2 separate regions of the Homo sapiens genome follow, and region 2 is linked to region 1. Evidence: promoter capture Hi-C in human tissues and cell types (Jung and others, 2019). All regions are on one chromosome and are shown on one strand. Each heading gives the region's core, a stretch centred on a gene start or on the middle of the fragment in contact. The rest is flanking DNA. Distances are from core to core; before and after follow the strand shown.

Region 1 (3,121 bases), core at 225-2,724:
TTAAATTATATTTTCTAACTAACATAAAAATTTCAGCATATGCTTGATTTCCAATCAATGTTGAACTGTTAAGTTTTCTAACTCAGACAAGTACAGCAGCTTCTCATTTTTTGAGACTGGCTCTGGCAGGAGCTCACTATTTAAAGAAATGCAACATGGAAGTATATTTCTACAATATGAATAGTGAGCCAACTTACTGTTCAAACCCCTAATGCTCTAATACTTGATTAAAAAAAAAACCTAATGCTCTGTACTTGATTTTAAAAAATAACAATAACATTTATTGATCACTTACTACATGGTCAGTCCTTCTGGCTGCTTTACATTGCATTTATTTTATTTAATCCTCACAACAGTAATAGTCCTCCTTGAGAAAATGTGTTTCATTATGGTAAAGGAATTTTAGTTATTCAGAAGCTCTAGGATTGGTGTAAATGGGCATACTTTAGATATCTTGAGGTCTTCCATAAGTGAGAATAGTAGCTTAATGTCTATACATTTTCCCTGTTTTACAGAAAGGGAAAATAGCAACAGGAAGGTTGAGTCACTTGTCCAAGATCACACAGTTCATAAGTGATGGAGCCAGAATTCCAACCCAGGGCGTCTGACTTCAGAGCCTAAAGCTCTCTCTTGTAAAACTGTGGAAGCTGATCACAGGCTGGAAAAGACTTCATATAAAAAACCTGGGCCCACCAAATATTTGTCAAGTTTTGTCCTGGCTGCTGAACCTAAAAATCTAAGGTAATCTTTCTCAAGTGTAAATTCGGGAAAACAATGACACTGATTTGGTGAGAAATTATTTGAGTTAATACATTTAGCAGGGACCTTGGAAGGCAGTAAGCCCTGGGAAAACTTTGTCTCTTGTCTTTGGCATCACCTCCGCGAAGCCTGGTGGGACGCGGCTGCCCCTGCGCTGTCTGTGCACCTCCTAAGAACCAGGAAGCGCGGTGACCTCCAAAGAACAGGACTGTCCCAAATCAAGCGGGATTACCACCGCCCCTCTCCCATTTAACAGCTGAGGACACTGAGGTCTAATGGATTCCAAGTACTTAAATAGGTGAGCGGCGCGCAGGGGCGAGTTGCAAGCCCTGGGATCCTTCCAGCTCGCCGCTTCCCCTCCCAGGGGCTCAGGTTTCTCTTTCATCTGTGAGGTCCTCTCCCGCCCGGACGCCGGGGCCCGCCATCCCCAACGTCCACCGCGAGCTCCCCAGATCCATGGTCTGGAGCAGGTCCAGAAGACGCACCTGGCAGGACGCCCCGGGCGCCACAGTCGCCCTCCACACGGGCCACCCCAATCCTGCCGCGGCTCCGTGGCTCTCCTTACCTTTACCTGAGGTGAAGCAAGGACGTGGAAGCAGCTACGGCGCGCTACCAAGCACCTCACACCGCTCTCAACAGTACTGCTCAGCCTCCCGGCCCGCCGATGCGCAGGCGACAGCAGCCAACTTGTAAGTCACCGCTGGTCGCAGCCAACTGGAAGGCACCCAGCGCCTCAGGGCAAGGCGGGCCGAGCCCCCAGCCCCGCCCCCTGGCCCGATCCCGGGGGCTCCGGGGAGGGGGGGCTGAGAGGAGGTGGCCGGAACAACGTGCGCTTGTTCGGATTGGCTGGCGCGGGAGCGTGTGGAGGGCTGATTGGTGGCCGATAAATGGAATGATTCCGCGTGGGTGTGGGCTGGCCCGAGCCGCGCCAGGGTTCCCTGGATGTCTGGGGTTGCCTGCAGGTTTGGATTGGTTGGGTTGGGTTGTCCTGTGATCACTTAATTGTGAAAGAATTTTGTCAAGCAGTAAACCGACTGGGAGAAATTGAAACAGAAGGCGAAGTGAAGGATCACAGTGAGGGATAAGGTCCAAATTCATCCCGCTTGTGGATATCCTAGTATCTCGCAACTACGCTACTCCTCCCAGGACTAAAAGTCAAATAAGAAAAAGCGCCCATGCAGAGGAGGACGAGCTCTCTGCCTCCTGCTTAGCCTGACTCAGAACTGAGAGAGCTGGGAAGGAAAATGCATATAAACGAAAGTCCCTGCCACTATGTGAATTGACCTTTAGCCAAATACGTTTGTGTGTGTGTGGGTGTGGGTGTGTGTGGGTGCGTGTGTGTGTTTCCATCCTCAGATAAAGAGTTTAGAGGGCAACCTTAGAAGCAGAGAAAAGGAGGAGGTGTGACAAGTGGATTTAGCAACTGCACAGTTTTGGAGTTTCCATCTACTCGAACATGAGAAAGATTTCTTCCAGTGGCTGTGAAGTCACCCATCTGATGGGATGCTTGGCAAACAGTGAATTTCTTCCTTTACCAGAGTAGCCATGATGCACTGATTAGCGAGGCTTGGTTTGTCTGCAAATTGCGTTTACTAAGATACGTAGTTTGAGAACCAAAAGCAGGGAAGAATGCAGTGCTACACCATTAGTGATTTCTGATAGACTTGCAATGAAAATAAATAATATTTCGTAAATTTTTAAGTCGGCCTCACCAAAAGAATTACCAAATACTACTTGCTAGTTATTATTGGCCGATTTATTTTTTACCTCCATCGTTTATATGTAAAATAATTTGTTTTATATTTATATTTATAATTTCGTGTGACATAATAGAAGAGTTCTTCGTGTGTTGTAAAGCTCCTTTCACTTAGGAATTATTGGCCAATTATTGAGGTGCTTTGGATGGATGGATGAATACGTAGATAAATAATTTGAAATGGTTGGGGAAAAGTGCTTTGTAATTAAGTTGTACCTACTTAATTCAATTACATTGAATCCTCTTAACAGCCCCCTAAGGTAGGTGTGTTTTACAGGCGAGGAGCCCCAGACATAAATCTTAAGGCAGGTTGCTTAATTACTGAGTGGAGAAACTGGAATTTGGCTGAGGTCTGCTGGACTCTGAAACTGGGCTCTTAGTCTCCATAAAATTCAGATGGTGCTTGGTAGCTCTTTGTCAAGGCACCTGTGAAGACCACTGGGACCATAAATGAAAGGCCTAATTCCTACTGTGAGGGTTTACACAGGTTTAATGGTGGAGAGGAATAAATCCACGTATCTATTTCAAAAAAGTAAAAAAGTTGTATCTGTCATTATTAGGATTCAGTTCTGGATACTTTGCTCAACAGTCTATATATTCTCTTGC
Region 2 (3,121 bases), core at 253-2,752, 630 kb after region 1:
TGGGGCATTTGCTTAAGGAGCAATACCAGACTCTCTGTGCCTTGTCTCTCTTCCCCATATTTTACCCTTTTGAGTTTCTTTGGAGAAGGCTGGCTCTGGGATATGCACAGAGCCTTATACACTAGGTTCTAAGACTCCTCAACTTAAATAATAGCCACTTACCACTACTCCTCTCCTTCGAATCCCACGGGATGGAGTTCCACTGTCCTGCAGCTCTCTTTCTTCTGTCTGTCGACAGCTTTCTTTTTAGTGTATAGATCCTTTCATTCACCATCTTCTGGCTTCCCATTTGTCTGAAGTCAAGTTCCTGTAAGCACCATTTAAGAACTTCCTAGGTACTGCAAGTTATTTTAGCTAGTCTTCTAAAATAGCATCTGGTAATTCAAATGATACTGTGCTACAAGATGAAAATATGAACTTCATTTTATTGTGGATACAAATATGAGCAAAAATGCTTATGGGTGTGGGTCAAGAATATACTCATGGAAAGTTAATACCTTTATTACAACAAAGAACTTTTTTATAATAACTTAGAAGTCATTCAAAAGTAATCTAAGAACAGATTTATTTTAGAAACTAATTACACTGTGACATCTGGACTGCACAGATCAATCAGCAATATTAGAAAGAAGTGTTGAAAGAGAATGAGATTTTCGGTCAGAAGATTAAGGCCCAAATCCTGTCTCTGCTGCTTTCTAGCTTTATGACCTTGAGTAAGTTTCTTAACTTTTGAAGTGTATGCACATAATACCTTTCATAATAGAATAGTTGTGTTCCCATTGTTTCCATGCCTTTCTATATCCACTCTCCTTGACTTTTCAGTTCCTCTCATTAAGAATAGAGACTATTTCCTCATTCCTTGAAACTGGGCCAAGAAAATGCTTCAGAAGTAGTTGCGTGCCAGTGCCAAGAGTGAGCCATGAGAGGATTCACATGCCTCCACTCACTCATTTGGCACCTGCTTGAAACTAGCTAGGGTTAGCCTGCTGGAGAGGCAATATCCACTCTTGTGTGCCCAGGTGACCAAACTCTACACCTATGAATGAGGCCACCCTAGACTAGTAAGTCCTAGAAATCTGCCAACTTACCGCAGACTCGTTAGCAAGCCCATTTATGATCACCTGAGCCTGGTCCAGACCACAGTTACCCAACCAAGACAAAGACTTGTGAGTTAAACAAATTATTGTTTCAAGCCACTCAGTTTCAGGGCAGTTAGTCATACAGTTATAGCAAACTGATACAGGTACTACATAGGTTGTTGTGAAGATTAAATGAAAAAAATATGTAATGCACTTACTGCAGTGCCTAACATATAGTAGATTCTTAATGGATTGTTGCTACTTTTATTATCATCATACCAAAATGATCTGTTTTTATGTTAATGAAGTAATAGTTCATGACAGTGCTTTTTCTAATATTTCTTTCTGAAGGCTGTATTAGTCAGGATATAAATGACAAATACAAATCAACTTAAATTTTAAAAGGAGTGGTTCATTAGCACTGATGTCAGACAGACTGAGATCCAGACCTCAATATCACCATTTCTCCCCTATCTTCCCTGTCTCTCTTTGTGTTGGCCTCATTCTTACTATTGCAGACAGGCTTTCTCTACAAGAGATAAAGTCAGCCATCCTCAGCTATTCTTCTAGTGCCAGGAACATAGAAGCAACAGCAATTTTCCCTATTGACTCCAATATAGAAAAGTCCCAGACAAGGGCTCCAATTGGCCCAGCTTGAGTCACGTGTTAATACCTGAACCAACCACAGCAGCCAAGGAGGTGGGGCTCTCTGTCCACATCACTTCATGTGCTGACCCTGTATAAACAGGGAGAAAGCAGAGTCTGCACTGAAGACATAGAAAAGAAGGGGGAAATGTGCTCAGTTGCCAAAGACAATACTACCAGAAGCCTGGAATAATAAATTATGCTATGGCCACCCTCCAATTCACCCCTTATTATCACTGGACTGGATCTTTGGACTTGAAGCCTATAGTCCACTAAGGCAGAAAATAAACTGCCTTCAGAAACAGAATTCAGGGCTCTGTGCCTACTTTTCTCCCTATAATCATTCCTTAAAATTATTTTAACCACCCTGATATGGAGCAGCCCTGGGAATATGAGGGAAATCAACCCAATAGATATGTACTTTTAAGGAAAAGCATTTTATTATACTTAACTTCCCATTCTTTTACCAACATACAAATATTCTTATTGCACTCTCATAGAGCTTTTGGTGTTCTAGACACTGAGATTTTATTTTATTTATTTTGAGACAGTGTCTCACCCTGTTGTCCAGACTGGAGTACAGTGGTGCAATCACGGCTCACTGCAACCTTGACCTCCCAGGGCTTAGATGATCCTCCCACCTCAGTTTCCCAAGTAGCTGGGACTACAGGTGTGTGCCACCACACTCAGCTAATTTTTTGTAGAGATGAGTTTTGCCAAGTTGCCCAGGCTGGTCTTGAACTCCTGGGCCCAAGCAATCTGCCAGCCTCAACTTCTTAAACTGATGGGATTACAAGTATGAGCCACCGCGCCTGGTCTTGGTTGGATACAGAGATTTTAGAGGCTTTACTGGCCATGGCTGAATTTACACCTAATCCTCAAAGATGATATCTTTTGTGAGCTGGATCGTAGGATTGTAGAGATAGAAGAAAACCTAGAGGTCATTTATATCTAAATTGGGTGAAAGTAGCAATGACATCCCAGGTGATAGACATTGGGGCCATGGGTGTTGCAATTGTTGCTACTGCTGTTATAGTTGAATGTGTGACATAAATGTCACATGTATGAATATGTAATCTTGTGCCCATGCCCCACTTGAGGTTATAGCACCTAGAATTGAAAAGAGGGTAGTCCAGCCTGCAGGAGAAGAGGGAGGGGATCCCCTCACTCCTTTGCCATGCCACACTTTTTAATCAATGAAACCTAAGTTAACATTAACTTTGTTTAAAAAAAGTAAGTTAATTCTGGCTGTGCGTGGTGGTGACTCATGCTTGTAATCCCGGCACTTTGGGAGGCCGAGGTGGGCGTATCACTTGAGGTCAGGAGTTTGAGACCAGCCTGGCCAACATGGCGAAACCCTGTCCCTACTAAAAATACAAAAATTAGCCAGGCGTGGT

The links. Contacts are between HindIII fragments. The study calls those that stand out against the background at their distance.
Region 2: a fragment that was not itself captured here is called in contact with the fragment with the promoter of STARD4 in region 1 in 3 of the 25 tissues and cell types used here (dorsolateral prefrontal cortex, lymphoblastoid cells and mesendoderm cells).

The regions. Positions count from the first base shown.
Region 1 is chr5:111,511,061-111,514,181 of GRCh38, forward strand. It overlaps STARD4 (StAR related lipid transfer domain containing 4), which reads right to left and starts at 1,475. Exons shown (of 6, transcript NM_139164.3): 1 at 1,325-1,475. It overlaps STARD4-AS1 (STARD4 antisense RNA 1), which reads left to right and starts at 1,166. Exons shown (of 7, transcript NR_040093.1): 1 at 1,166-1,448. RefSeq lists enhancers at 1,110-1,319, 1,800-1,939 and a silencer at 1,350-1,719. The HindIII fragment of the contact is 5,039 bases long and covers 1-3,121 here.
Region 2 is chr5:112,142,035-112,145,155 of GRCh38, forward strand. It overlaps a transcript of EPB41L4A not described here. Among named protein-coding and RNA genes, the nearest start is that of EPB41L4A-AS1, 17 kb to the right of the region's middle. The HindIII fragment of the contact is 7,979 bases long and covers 1-3,121 here.